Linked DNA regions of Homo sapiens: all the other regions are linked to region 5. Evidence: promoter capture Hi-C in 16 types of primary human blood cells and fetal thymus (Javierre and others, 2016). All regions are on one chromosome and are shown on one strand. Each heading gives the region's core, a stretch centred on a gene start or on the middle of the fragment in contact. The rest is flanking DNA. Distances are from core to core; before and after follow the strand shown. Region 1 overlaps PPP6R2 (protein phosphatase 6 regulatory subunit 2). Region 2 holds the start of DENND6B (DENN domain containing 6B). Region 3 overlaps SHANK3 (SH3 and multiple ankyrin repeat domains 3). Region 4 holds the start of PPP6R2 (protein phosphatase 6 regulatory subunit 2). Region 5 holds the start of LMF2 (lipase maturation factor 2).

Evidence for each region. Contacts are between HindIII fragments. The CHiCAGO score rates a contact against its expected background, and 5 or more counts as called.
Region 1: a contact is called between a fragment that was not itself captured here and the fragment with the promoter of LMF2 in region 5, in 4 of 17 cell types (M1 macrophages, M0 macrophages, naive CD8 T cells and 1 more). The highest score is 6.2, in M1 macrophages.
Region 2: the fragment with the promoter of DENND6B here is called in contact with the fragment with the promoter of LMF2 in region 5 in 4 of 17 cell types (monocytes, M0 macrophages, M1 macrophages and 1 more); the score reaches 7.6 in monocytes.
Region 3: a contact is called between a fragment that was not itself captured here and the fragment with the promoter of LMF2 in region 5, in 2 of 17 cell types (M0 macrophages and M1 macrophages). The highest score is 7.7, in M0 macrophages.
Region 4: a contact is called between the fragment with the promoter of PPP6R2 here and the fragment with the promoter of LMF2 in region 5, in 12 of 17 cell types (naive CD8 T cells, total CD8 T cells, fetal thymus and 9 more). The highest score is 8.1, in naive CD8 T cells.

What each region holds. Positions count from the first base shown.
Region 1 is chr22:50,363,889-50,366,588 of GRCh38, forward strand. The region is part of intron 1 of PPP6R2 (protein phosphatase 6 regulatory subunit 2); the gene reads left to right. Among named protein-coding and RNA genes, the nearest start is that of PPP6R2, 22 kb to the left of the region's middle. The HindIII fragment of the contact is 3,569 bases long and covers 1-2,700 here.
Region 2 is chr22:50,325,588-50,328,287 of GRCh38, forward strand. DENND6B (DENN domain containing 6B) reads right to left here and starts at 1,425. Exons shown (of 20, transcript NM_001001794.4): 1 at 1,225-1,425. The coding sequence starts at 1,401. RefSeq lists a silencer at 1,174-1,813. The HindIII fragment of the contact is 18,876 bases long and covers 1-2,405 here.
Region 3 is chr22:50,693,989-50,696,688 of GRCh38, forward strand. It overlaps SHANK3 (SH3 and multiple ankyrin repeat domains 3), which reads left to right. Exons shown (of 25, transcript NM_001372044.2): 12 at 787-1,058. Among named protein-coding and RNA genes, the nearest start is that of SHANK3, 23 kb to the left of the region's middle. RefSeq lists an enhancer at 1,065-1,565. The HindIII fragment of the contact is 1,821 bases long and covers 495-2,315 here.
Region 4 is chr22:50,342,033-50,344,732 of GRCh38, forward strand. PPP6R2 (protein phosphatase 6 regulatory subunit 2) reads left to right here and starts at 1,295. Exons shown (of 24, transcript NM_001242898.2): 1 at 1,295-1,518. RefSeq lists an enhancer at 3-649 and silencers at 746-915, 1,186-1,465, 1,476-1,555. The HindIII fragment of the contact is 9,108 bases long and covers 302-2,700 here.
Region 5 is chr22:50,506,402-50,509,101 of GRCh38, forward strand. LMF2 (lipase maturation factor 2) reads right to left here and starts at 1,301. Exons shown (of 14, transcript NM_033200.3): 1 at 1,181-1,301; 2 at 381-634; 3 at 237-265; 4 at 1-101. The coding sequence starts at 1,274. It overlaps NCAPH2 (non-SMC condensin II complex subunit H2), which reads left to right and starts at 1,823. Exons shown (of 20, transcript NM_152299.4): 1 at 1,823-2,044. The coding sequence starts at 1,937. RefSeq lists an enhancer at 1,032-1,081 and silencers at 1,302-1,401, 2,072-2,361. The HindIII fragment of the contact is 8,515 bases long and covers 1-2,700 here.

The DNA of each region.
Region 1 (2,700 bases), core at 158-2,657, 140 kb before region 5:
CAAACTTTTTTTTTTTTTTTTTGAGACGGAGTTTTTGCTCTTGTCGCCCAGGCTGGAGTACAGTGGCGCAATCTCGGCCCACTGCAACCTTTGCCTCCCGGGTTCAGGCGATTCTCCTGCCTAAGCCTCCCGAGTAGCTGGGATTACAGGCATGCACCACCACGTCTGGCTAGTTTTTTTGTATTTTTAGTAGAGACGGGGTTGCACCATGTTAACCAGGCTGGTCTCAAACTCCTGACCTCAGGTGATCTGCCCACCTCGGCCTCCCAAAGTGCTGGGATTACAGGCTTGAGTCACCGTGCCTGGCCCAGGTTTTCAGACTTATTGTGAGGCCAGTGGAATGGATAGCCTGGAAAAGGACCCTGTATAAATGGGAACTTGGTATATGAGAGAAGTGTCATACTTGAAATATGTATTTAAAGCAATGTACCATTTTTAGGTATATAAGTCATAAAATAATGAAATTACGGATACTGCAAGTTAGTGATTGTCTCTCAAGAAGGGGATTGCTTGAGTTCCTGGGTTCCTCAGTGTCGTAGAAACATTTGTTTAAGAAGGAGGCACATACAAACAAATGTTAGTGTTTGTTAAGTCTCATCACATGGATATTATGTCCTTCTCTAGACTTCAATATATTTAAAAAATTTCATAATTAAAAATAAAAATATTTAAAACTGAGTTATAATTCTCTGAAAGATATAAACAGTCTTGTGAGAGCACTGAGGAGGGACTCAGAAAGTTGACAAAGGTAGCTATAGATGGTCTTCAGATAGGAAGATCAGGCAAGAGTTTGTCAAATAGAGAAAGTGGGAAGAAGGCATTCCAGTCAGAGGGTCTGTGTGTGCAAAGGTGTTAGCTGGGGGAGACACTCAGCATATTTAGATAGTTTTGGTACGGTTATGGAATCAGGTGGGGATGAGGAAAGAGTGCCAAAGTTGTATTGTGTGCGGGTCCCACTTAATGTGTCATCGTGTAGAGGCTTACAGCAGAAGTACGGTGTATTCTTTATTCCCTGTTTGTCTTTTTCTACCTTATTTTGGATTAAGAATGTTTTTATGTGTGATGGTATTAGAAGGTGGGCATAAAAAGAAAAAAAATCTTTTATGATTCTCTTTGGGTCTTTGTATATCTTCCATGTCTTTACTTAATCTTTCCTTTAGGTTCTTGAACATATGAGATACTTTTTTTTTTTTTTTTTTTGAGACGGAGTTTTGCTCTTGTTGCCCAGGCTGGATTGTAATGGCGCAATCTCGGCTCACCGCAACCTCCACCTCCCGGGTTCAAGCAATTCTCCTGCCTCAGCGTCCCAAGTAGCTGGGATTACAGGCATGCACCACCACACCTGGCTAATTTTATATTTTTAGTAGAGACGGGGTTTCTTCATGTTGGCCAGGCTGGTCTTGAACTCCCGACCTCAGGCGATGCATCTGCCTCGGCCTCCCAAAGTGCTGGGATTACAGGTATGAGCCGCCGTGCCTGGCATGAGATACACTTATAAGAACTATTTAGGCTGGGCATAGTGGCTCACGCCTGTAATCCCAGCACTTTCGGAGGCCGAGGTGGGTGGATCATGAGGTCAGGAGATCGAGACCATCCTGGCTAACACGGTGAAACCTCGTCTCTACTAAAAAATACAAAAAATTAGCCCGGCGTGGTGGCGGGCGCCTGTAGTCCCAGCTACTCGGGAGGCTGAGGCAGGAGAATGGCATGAACCCGGGAGGCGGAGCTTGCAGTGAGCTGAGATCACACCACTGCATTCCAGCCTGTGCGACAGAGCAAGACTCTGTCTCAAAAAAAAAAAAAAAAGAACCATTTAAATGTCCTTATCAATTCTTTATTTATTATTATTTTTTTAGAGACAGTGTTCTGTTTGCTCTGTCACTCAGGCTGGATTGCAGTGGTGCAATCCTGGCTCACTGCAACCTCAAACTCCAGGCCTCAAGTGATTCTCCCACCTTGCTCCTGAGTAGCTGGGATTATAGACATGAGCCCCTGTACCAGCATTATCTGTTAACTCATCTGTGTCATTTCTGGGTTGGTTTTGTGTTGTTTTTCCCCTCATTATGGTTTATGATTTTTCTTTTCCTGCTCCCTTGCATGCCTAGAACTTTTTGATCAGATGCCCAGACTTTGTGAATTTTATCTTGTTGGATACTGAGCATTTTTGTGTTCCTATAAATATTCTTGACCTTTGTTCTGGGATGAGGTTCAATTACTTGGAAACAGTTTGATTCTGATAGGTCTTGCATTTCAGCTTTGTTAGGTGGAACCCTAGTAATTTTTAGTCTAGGGCTAGTTTTGCTCTGCCACTGAGGCAAACGTCTTCTGAGCATTACGTCCAAAGCCTTGTGAATTACAAGGTTTTCCACTGCAACTGGCAGGAATAGGCTCTGCGTGAGCTTTGAGGATTGTTCCCTCTCATCTTTTTTTTTTTTTTTTTTAAATGGAGTCTCGCTCTGTCACCTAGGCTGGAGTGCAGTGGTGCAATCCCAGCTCACTGCAGCCTCCGGGTTCAAGCAGTTCTCCTTCCTCAGCCTCCCCAGTAGCTGGGATTACAGGTGCCCGCCACCATGCCCAGCTAATTTTTGTATTTTTAGTAGAGATGGAGTTTCACCGTGTTGGCCAGGCTGGTCTCGAACTCCTGACCTCAGGTGATCCACCGGCCTCGGCCTCCCAAAGTGCTGGGATTACAGGTGTGAG
Region 2 (2,700 bases), core at 175-2,674, 180 kb before region 5:
GCCTCTCAAAGTGCTGGGATTACAGGCATGAGTCACCGCGTCCGGCCAGGAACCTCTTAACTTCTTTTGTGATTTTGTGGGGAACAATCTGGGCAACAGTATTGAACTAAGAAAGGTTTTCAACCCTGGGCAGGTCACCACACTTCTTGGTACTCAGCCCCCACCCAGTGATGCTGTTTGAGGCTGTGCACCTGCTGGGGACCGTGTGTGGTGGGAGGGGCTCCAGAGAGTGCTAGAGTTAATGCTTTTCTGTTTAGAAGACTATATGCTTCTCATGGCCTCTTGGAGTTCAGCAGGGCCTTAGAAAGCATCTCCCAACCACAGAGACGCGCTGCCTGGCTTTCCTGATGATGATGATTTGGCCTGATCTTGGACACCTGCGGTAATAGAGAGCTCACTACCCCTCACGAGGTTCCTTGCGCCAGCGCGGGGAAGCCTCCCTCCATCTGCAGGTGGGCCTCCCCTGTGCTGGTCAGCTCCCTGGTGTGTGTTACACAGGACACAGAGAAGATCATCCTGCGGGGCCTCCCTGGAGGAAAGGAGGCTGCCTGTGTGGGTAGGTGAGTGGAGGCCTGCAGGCAGCAGAAAGACCACATCGAAAGCCCATGGGCACAGCCGATGAACAGACCCCCACGAGCAAGAACACCACAAGACGCAGGTGGAGGGACGGGGCCCATGGGGTCTGGATCTGATGCTAGGTGAACAAGGAGGCGCTGCAGGGTTTTAAGCAGGAGAGCCACAAAGGTTGAACTCTGGGGTGCAGCTGGGGTGGGGATGACATCAGTGATGGCAGCAAAGGAACGGATCCGAGACCTTTGTTGCAGAAGGAGCCGTCAGCCTCGCCTATGCCCAGAGATGGGATGCGGAGCGGAGGGTAAGCCCGGGACTCTGGCGGGAGCCACTGAGGGGATGAAGGTGTCACTGCTCCGGTGGGGAATGGAGGGGGGAGATGTGAGACATTTACTGGGAAAAATCGAAAGAGTACCACTTAGGTTATGCAAAATGCTCCATCCCAATGTGAAGACAAGATCCGACTCCGAGCAGCTCGCCTTCCCTCCTCGGCCTGGGGAGCGCTTCTGGAGCCCGGAGAAGAGGCCCCTCCAGGAGGCGGCGGCCGAAGGCCAGGGAGAGTGCGGGGCGGCCGAGGGCCCCAAGCGAGGCGGGACTGGCCCCGAGAGGCGCAGCCCTGCCCACCCGCCCGCGCCCGCGCTCGCGCCCGCTCACCTCCAGCGCCTGGCCCAGCTCCAGGTCGAAGGTGACCACGCACACACACTCCAGCCAGGCGGAGAAGCGCGCCCAGGGCGCCGCCGGGGTCCGCGCCGCGCGACCTGAAGACGTGGGTCCAGCCGCGCCCAGGCAGCCGCGAGCCCGGCGAGGCCCTGTGCCCAACAGCGCGTCCATGGCGGCGGCCGCGGGTTGCCGGGGAAACGCGGGCGGGGGCGGCGCGCGTCCGGGCCGCTCCTCAGAACAGTCGAGCGGCCGCCGCGGCCCAGTGCGGCTCCCGCGCGGCCGCGCGCCCCCTAGCGCCCGAGAAGCGCCAGCGGCCGGGCGCCGCCCAGGGCACCAGCGAGCCGGACGCGCGCGGGCCAGAGCGGCCGGAGCCCACTGGGGGACTTCCGGGGAAGCGGCCGAACTGGGGCCTTCCAGGGTCCACGCCGTCTGAGGCCCGAGAGAGTCGGTTCGGCCCCGGTGTTCGCGGATCCCGGCTCGCGGGAGCCTCGGGGCCAGGCCAGGGAGGCAGAGCAAGCTGCAGCCAGCCGGCGCCGGGCTCGTCGGGCTTCGCAGGTCCGGCCAGCCTACCTCGCCCCACCGCGCAGGGGCCAGCGGCGTCGCGGGCGTTTTCGTGGCGGAATGGCGTCCTCACTGAGCGCCCAGCCACCACCGCGGACTCGCGCTCGCTTCCTCTGGGGCCCGCGCGGCCTGGGGTCGTGTCTGACCGCGGGTGTCCACGCAACACCTCTGCAGTTTCACTTTCCGGGGGAATCGCGGGGACCTGGAGCGAACTCTTCCCTCCCTCGCGAGGGCCCCGGGCCCCGCTGTGGTCCACAGAGCACCTTGAGGCCCGGCGTGGAAGGGCGAGTTTGGGGCTGTCGGTAACTTAATGAGGCACGCCTTTGAGTCGTGGGCCTCATGACGTTTCCGTGGAAGGCGGGCCGCATATACTGTGGTGGTCCCTTCAGATTACCACGTGTTGGCCAGACGCGGTGGCTCACGCCTGTAATCTCACCGCTTTGGGAGGCCGAGGTGGGGTGGCGGATCACGAATCCAGGAAATCGAGACCAACCTGGTGAAACCCTGTCTCTACTGAAAATACAAAAATTAGCCGGGCGTGGTGGCTGGCGAGCGCCGTAACCCCAGCTATTGGGGAGGCTGAGGCAGGAGAATCGTTTGAACCCCGGAGGCGAAGCTTGCAGTGAGCTGAGATGTCGCCATTGCACTCCAGCCTGGGCGACAGAGTGAGACTCCATCTCAAAAATAAAAAAATAAAAGATTACCACGTGTTGTTCGGATCATCTGGCCTAGGTGTGGGGTAGGCTGTCCCATCTAGGTTTGTCACATAACAAAATCGCCTAATGACACATTTCTCAGGACATAGCTTCACCGTTGAGTAGCACATGGCCGTATTGTTTTTTGTTTGTTTGTTTCTGTTGTTTTTTTTGAGACAGAATGTTGCTCTTGTTGCCCAGGCAGGAGTGCAAT
Region 3 (2,700 bases), core at 155-2,654, 190 kb after region 5:
CATATAATGTCCTTCTCTGTCTCTTGTTACAGTTTTTATCTTAAAGTTTATTTTGTATGATGTTAATATAACCACCCAGCTCTCTTTTGGTTACTATTTACATTAGATTGCTTTTTTTATCCTTTCACTTTGAACCTATTTGTGTCTTTGGATTTAAAGTGATTATTTTGTAAGTAGCATATAGTTGGATAATACTTTTTAATCACTATCTGCTTTTTAAGTAAAATTCTATTGGAACACAAACACACCTATCTGCTTGTATGTTGTTTGTGGTGGTTTTCATGCTGCGGTGGCAGAGTTGAGTCATTGCAACACAGACTATATAGCTTGCAAAGCCTTAAGTAGTTACTGTCCAATTCTTTCCAGAAAAGGTTTGCTGATCCCTGGTCTAGAATGTCTTTTATAGTTTCCCTGGTTATAGTTAACTGCAAATGGTCCTGTTCAGCAGTAGTCTGGTGAGATTCGTCACATGTAGCCTGTTTTGTCTCTCCTGAAGCTTGTGAAATGCAGTTCTTAGAGCATATCTGAGCACCCTCAAGGCCCCTTTCGGCTGAGAGGAGAAGCAGGCTTCTACCTCTGAAGCTAGGGTGAGAGGCAGTTTGACTGGGATGTGGCCCCTTAATGGTAGCTTCATTTGTAGGGTGGCCAACTCTTTTGGTTTGCCTGGAACCAAGGCAGTTCCTGGAACATAGGATTTAGTTTTAACATCTGGAAAGCCTGGGCAAACTGGACAAGTTGGTCACCCAGCTGGCTGTTCAGAGTCTTACCTATGCCCCCTTACCCCAGTACCATTCAGGGAAACCCCCAGCTATGCGAAGCGGCGGCGACTGGCTGGCCCCAGTGGCTTGGCATCCCCTCGGCCTCTGCAGCGCTCAGCCAGCGATATCAACCTGAAGGGGGAGGCACAGCCAGCAGCTTCTCCTGGACCCTCGCTGAGAAGCCTCCCCCACCAGCTGCTGCTCCAGCGGCTGCAAGAGGAGAAAGATCGTGACCGGGATGCCGACCAGGAGAGCAACATCAGTGGCCCTTTAGCAGGCAGGGCCGGCCAAAGCAAGATCAGGTAGGAGGGGGCTGGCAGGCCCTGGAGGGGTTGGGAGGGTGGGGTGCCGGGACCTGAGCCAGGAGGAGCCAGCACCGGGAGGCAGAGAGAGGCCTGGTGGTGCCTAGCACCTGTGTAGTGATGGGCTAGGGCTTCCTGGTTGGGGAAGGGAAGAAGGCATCTCTGGAGGTGGGGACAGGCACATGCACGCTGATTTCCGGTTGGAGCTGGGCTTGCCATGAGGACAGTGGGCAGTTGAGGGAGCGTGTTAGGTGGAGAGGGTATGCTCCTACCTGTGATTTAGAAAACACACTGCATTGTCAGGCATGGCTGGGAAGAGTCAGGGCTGGTGGCCTGTGGTAAGGGGGACAGGGATGGAGTTGCCACTCCAGTAGGGCCCAAAACCTACAGGTAAGCCCCAGCCCTGTCCCCAGGGTATACTCATGGTTTCCCCCAGCCCTGGCACACCTACAGGACTCTGTGGCTTCTATTCTTTACCCTCACCCTGAGGCCTGGGTCCCTGAGGCAGGGATGCCTGGACCGGAGCCCACTGGCCTCTCTGGGCTGTGCATTGGGTGCTGAGGTGGGCGCACTGGCTCTCAGCCACTTTGTGCCTGGGCTTCTCATCAGTAAGTGGGAATAGTCCTACCTAAGTCATTGTCTTTGGGAAGCCTTCCAGAATGCCCTGGGCAGGTGAGGGATCACCTGGCAGAGTCTGGCAACTGCCGGTAAAAGCACCTGCCCTCCCTGTGCCTTGAAGGCAGGCACCGTCTTTGTCGTTTCCTAGTTTCATCAGAGCCAGGCACTGAGGAGGGTGTTTGGCAGACATTGTTGAGTGGAAGAGTTACATAAACAGTATGTTGTTGTCAGGATGGCCGCCGGCCTTTACAGTTCTGTCAGTCCAGGCCCGCTGTTGGGCTGAATGGCATGTGTATACTAGCTCCTTTAACCTTGACGAACGTACATGTTCATGCTCTATTAATACCATGTTACAGATGAGCGTCCTGGTACGCAGGTGGGGCCTGTGACGGGTCCAGAGTCACAGAGCTACGGATCAGCTTCACTGGGCCCCAGGTAGACCCAATCCCCAACTTTCTAAGCCTGAGTGTTCAGCAGAGGGCTCAGGGTGCAGCAGGGCCTATGGAAGGCGCCCCTTCCTGTGCTGCCGCCCCTGCTCTGCAGCCTGGTCTCAGCGATGTCTCCGTGTCTGTCTTTGCCTGGGCTTGTTGGACTCGCAAGGCTGGCTGTACTGCCCCAAATCTCAATTCTCCCCTGAAGCTTTCTTATAGACCCGCGGATTTTCTAAGGGCTGGGCGGCCCAGTGGCTGAAAGAACACATTCTGCATTCCGGATGTTTCCATCCCGCAGAAAGGCTGCTCCTGAGTTGGAGGCACGCGTTGCCACAGGCTCCTCCCTGCATTCATTTTTTGTACGTGTTCATTCATCCTTTCAGCAGACACAAAACTAAGACCTGCTGTGTGAGGGGCTCCAGCTCACCTGCTCTGTGGGGATGGCAGAATTCTGTTTTTTCCTTCCTCGCAAACATTTATTGGGTGCCTGGTGCGTCAGAGGTGGTGGGTCTCAGGAAGTTGACAGCCGAGGGCCCGGGCTAAGCAGCAGTTAGGTGGGCAGTGATCCCCTTATGGGGCTGCCCTGGTGAG
Region 4 (2,700 bases), core at 45-2,544, 160 kb before region 5:
AGTTGCACTGGCTGAGCACAGGAGGGGTATCAAGATCAGGCAGAGTTGCACGTGCTCACGGCAGCAGGAGCATCTCCTGCATCTGGTGCCCCTGGCCCCAGTCCCCATTCCGTAGCTCAACTCAGCAGCACCTCCCGCTCCTGCAAAGGAGACCATGGTGAGGGCAGGAGAAGGGCATAGCCTGCTGAACGCAGGGTGTCTCTTCTCTAGGTTGTGAGGCTGAGGCTTTTTCACCCCCACTTCCTGGAAGTTCCCTCAACGGAACCTGCCAGAAATCTGCCCCTTAGGATGCTAGGGGAAAAGCTTTTGCTGGGGAAAGGCTCGCCAGAGGCATCTGCTATAAAACCGGCGAGGAGGGTGCTGCTGACCAGGGCAGGGGACAGGCGTCGGGGAAGCCCGGGGCCGCCAGCCGCAGGGCCAAGCCCTTTTCTCCTGCAACGTCTCTGGCGCCCTCTACCGACAAAGCCTAACAGCGCCAGCTGGCAAAAGAGAAATACCGAATATTTGAGCCGCCCAGATACGCTTTCGCAGAGAGCATCGGTGAATCCTGGGCAATACACTGACAACTGGAAAAAACGTTTAGAGATCCCTTAAGTGCTCCATGTTTTCCCAACATTTACCCACGGCTCGCTCTAACATCTGAAATAATAGTAATCATTTTTGAAATTATTTTGATGGAATTAAACAATTCCAGCACTTGTTAAATAGGCACATACTTAATTTGCAAAACGCCGTGCAAGAACCCGTAGCGCACCTGGAGAAAACTGTCTGGAGGCGGCTCAGGCACTCCGGGTCCAGGCAGGACGCGGGACGGGGAGGGGCCAGGCCTGGCGCCCGGGGCTGAGCCCGCTCCTGCTGCTCGGGGCGTCCACGCCCCGCGGCCTCTGGGAGGGGCCTGTGGCAGGAGGGAGGCCCGGGAGAACAGGCCCTTTCCTGGGCCACGGGGGAAACCCCTGCCCCAGGTGTGTGTCTCTCAAATGCTGCGTCGGGCCACGCGAGGATTGTTTTGTGGCTACAACAAAATTAACTATGCTTGCACAAAACTTTAGCCAATACCTCAAAGGGAAACGTAAAAGGGGAAAGACGCACTCTTACCCCACCCACTCCAAGGCAGCAGTCAGCACACCCAAGCCCTCGTGCTCCCACGCGGGTTTCACCGAGTGCCCCACTCCAGGGGGCCCGGAGAGCCGGCCCAGGTCCCGGCCCCGCCCACCCGCGCGGCCCCGCCCCCGGCCGCGAGCGTGCGCGCCCCAAGCGGAGACCCCGCCCCCGGAGCGCGTGCCCGTGCGCCGCCGCCGCCATTTTGGAGCGATCGGAGTGCCGCCCGCGGCCCCGAGTCGGTCTCGAGCCGCCGGCCGGCCGTGCCGGTGTCCGTAGGCGCTGCGCCCTCGGCCGGGCCCATGTGTGTGCGGCCCGCCCGAGGCCGCCCGGGCTTTGCCTCCACCAGCGCCCTGGCCTCCGCTCGGGCCTCCACACGGGCCTCCGAAGAGCTGCCGCGACGCCCGGCCCGCAGGGCAGGTGAGTGCGGCCGCCCGCCGCTCAGACCCGGCCCCCAGTCTGCCAGTGCCCCCCAAGTCACTTCTCCCCGAGTCAGTCAGTGCCCCCTCCAGATAGTTATCCCCCAGTCAGTCAGTTCCCCCTCCAGTCAGTTCCCCCCAGTCGGTGCCCCCGGAGTCAGTGCCCCCCCCAAGTCAGTCAGTGCCCCCTCCAGTCAGTTCCCCCCCAGTTAGTGCACCCTCTAGTCAGTTCCCCCAGTCAGTGCCCCCTCCAGTCAGTTCCCCCCCAGTCAGTTCCCCCCCAGTCAGTTTCCCCCCAGTCAGTTTCCCCCCAGTCAGTGCCCCCCAGTCAGTGCCCCCTCCAGTCAGTTCCCCCCCAGTCAGTGCCCCCTCCAGTCAGTTTCCCCCCAGTCAGTGCCCCCTCCAGTCAGTTCCCCCCCAGTCAGTGCCTCCTCCAGTCAGTTTCCCCCAGTCAGTGCCTCCTCCAGTCAGTTTCCCCCAGTCAGTGCCCCCTCCAGTCAGTTCCCCCCCCAGTCAGTGCCCCCTCTAGTCAGTTCCCCCCCAGTCAGTGCCCCCTCTAGTCAGTTCCCCCCCAGTCAGTGCCCCCTCTAGTCAGTTTCCCCCCAGTCAGTGCCTCCTCCAGTCAGTTTCCCCCAGTCAGTGCCTCCTCCAGTCAGTTTCCCCCAGTCAGTGCCTCCTCCAGTCAGTTTCCCCCAGTCAGTGCCCCCTCCAGTCAGTTCCCCCCAGTCAGTGCCCCCCCAGTCAGTTTCCCCCCAGTCAGTGCCCCCCAGTCAGTGCCCCCCAGTCAGTGCCCCCTCCAGTCAATTCCCCCCAGTCAGTGCCCCCTCCAGTCAGTTCCCCCCCCAGTCAGTGCCCCCTTCAGTCAGTTCCCCCAGTCAGTGCCCCCTCCAGTCAGTTCCCCCCCAGTCAGTGCCCCCCCAGTCAGTTTCCCCCCAGTCAGTGCCCCCCAGTCAGTGCCCCCTCCAGTCAATTCCCCCCAGTCAGTGCCCCCTCCAGTCAATTCCCCCCAGTCAGTGCCTCCTCCAGTCAGTTTCCCCCAGTCAGTGCCCCCTCCAGTCAGTTCCCCCCAGTCAGTGCCCCCCCAGTCAGTTTCCCCCCAGTCAGTGCCCCCCAGTCAGTGCCCCCTCCAGTCAATTCCCCCTAGTCAGTGCCCCCTCCAGTCAGTTCCCCCCCAGTCAGTGCC
Region 5 (2,700 bases), core at 51-2,550:
CCCCTGCCTGCCTGCCCTGGGGGGCCTCCTTGCGGTGGGAGGCTGGCCTCAGCGGGGCCACCAGCACGGCCAGGAAGCCAGTCTCTAGCAGCAGGGAGTCCCTATGGGGAGAGCAAATAGCACCAAGAGCCCCTCCCCACACAGCTGCTTCCCTCGGAAAGTCCTCCCAGGAAGGGCAGAGCCCTCCCCCACCCCCTACCCAGCCTCCCACAGCCCCAGGCCCAGCCGTCACTCACCACTGGAAATAAAGGAACACCTGGCCCACCTGCGGAGAGAGGGGCTGTCAGGGAGCGGGTGTGTCTGTGGACTCAGGTAAGGTAGAGGCAGGGGTGGGTGGTGGGGGTTGGAGATAGAGTGAGCTGGTCACAGGTCCCACTTGCCTGGCAGGCTGACAGGTAGGCGGCCCAAAGCAGCAAGTAGATGACAGGGTGGCGCAGTGGGCTCAGCAGCAGGGCTCCCAGGGCCACTAGTGCACCCAGCAGGCTCAGCAGCTCCAGGCCCTGGGCCGTGTCCAGCCCCAGTCTCGGCGCTTCCCACAGCAGCGTCGGGGTCTCCCACAGCTGCTGCCAGCGCCCCTTGCCCTGAGGCCGCAGCGTCCTCCTTGCAGGTAGGATGCCCTCGGGGCCATACAGGCCTGTGGGAGGGCATGTCATGGCCAGGCCCTGGACAGCCCTTGCAGACTAGACTACCTCTGAGTCAGGGCCTGCAGATCCCCCAGCCTAGGTCAGAGCATGCGGATACCTCCATCCCTAGGTCAGAGTCTGCAGTCCCTCCAGAGCCCGTCCCCCAGGTCGGGACCTGTCAAAACCCCGTCCCAGGGCTAGAGGCCTGCTCAACTACCTGAGTCAGGGCCTCCCACCCAGCAGAGCCCACTGCCCTCTTCCAGGTCTCAGCCCGATCTCCTACCTGTCCCACCAGGTCTGGGAGGAAGCCTCTCTCCCACCTCTCTCAGAGTTCTGTCCCCCACCCCAGGTCAGAGTCCAGAGCCTTACGGGAAATGGATCACCGCACACCTTCCTACCCCCACAGCGGCCTGCAGGACACGAACCGCCGCCCCCTACCCCACGCCAAGGCCTGGCCCTCACTCCCAACCCCGGACTGCGTGAGTGCCGGGCACAGAGAAAAGAGGACATAGGGTCCCGCGCCGAGGCTGGGGGTGTCCCACCCTGGGTGCCTTCACCTGGGATTTGCGTGTAGAGGGAAGCGAAAGCAAACATGAAGACGGCCGCCACGCCCTGGAGGAAGAGCTGCCGCGGGAGCCGGGAGCCCGCCATGTCCGCTACGCGGCCCGCTAGAGCAGGGCCCGCCCTCCGCGTCCGCCCGCCCGCGGCAGCCCCAGGCCCCGCCTCCTCACCGCCCCGCCCGCCCAATCCGTGGCAGCCCCAAGCCCCGCCTCCTCGGCCCGCCCGCCCGCCCGCGGCAGTCCCAGGCCCCGCCTCCTCACCGCCCCGCCCGCCCAACCCGTGGCAGCCCCAAGCCCCGCCTCCTCGGCCCGTCCGCCCGCCCGCGGCTGCCCCAGGCCCCGCCTCCTCACCGCCCCGCCCCCCCAACCCGTGGCAGCCCCCAAGCCCCGCCTCCTCGGCCCGCTCGCCCGCGGCAGCTCCAGGCCCCGCCCCACCCCGCCCCGCCCGACCCACGGCGGCCCCAAAAGCCCTCCCGTCCAAACTGGTGGCAGCCCAAAGCTCCGCCCACCCCCCCCTCCCGGAGGCTTCGACCCCGCCCCGCGACTCTTCCGGTGAGCTCCCGCTGCGCGGCGCCGGGGTTCGCCTCTCTGGCTTTTGCCCACGTTACGTCATAGACATGCGCGCGACGCCGCGCCTACGCATTTTCCTGGGCGGGAACAGCAAAATGGCGCCAGAACTAGTGGCGGGCTGAGGACGCCGTACCCCTCGGAAGGCAGCCCTGCGGTCCCTTTGCCGCCCGTTCCCTCCCGGACATGGAGGACGTGGAGGCGCGCTTCGCCCACCTCTTGCAGCCCATCCGCGACCTCACCAAGAACTGGGAGGTGGACGTGGCGGCCCAGCTGGGCGAGTATCTGGAGGAGGTAAGGGCGGCGGGGGAGTGACGCGGGGTGGGCCGGCGGGTGGGGCTGCGGGGCGGGGGCTCCGGGCCCGGGGCTGTGGGCGCCCCACCGTCTCCACGCCTATGGCTATCTGGCGCTCTGGCCGCGCAGGTCCTCGGGCTCCCTGCTTCTTTTCAAACTCCATCTCTGCCTCCCCAAATCATCCCTTGTTGGATTAGCGTGGACCTGTCATTGCAGGTTTCTACCCGTCAGCGAGCCGTGAATGATTGAGTGGGTGGTGACCAGCCGTTTCTCTAACGTAGTGGAATAGACTAGAAAGCATTATTGCTTTTATTGCAGTTATTGCGAGCATGCTTGTGTGTTTGAGAGGTCTGGATCACGATGTCAGAGGAATTTTTTATCTTGGATTTTCAAACCAATTTCAAGCTATTGCCATGCTCTATCCTGTTAGCGATTAGTGTTTCTTCCATGTTTGACAGCCCTGTCTAGACCTGTGTTAAGCTGTCTGCTCCATATTTGCGCTTCATTTTTACTCCTCAGCCCAGCTCAGTCTGGCGTCCACGACACTTAAATGTTTCTTGTCTTGATCAGCAGTGATCTCCATTCTACCAAATCCAAGGGACATAAGTCAGCATTTGTTGGACTGGCCACTCCTTTCTTTTTGAAACATGGTGGTA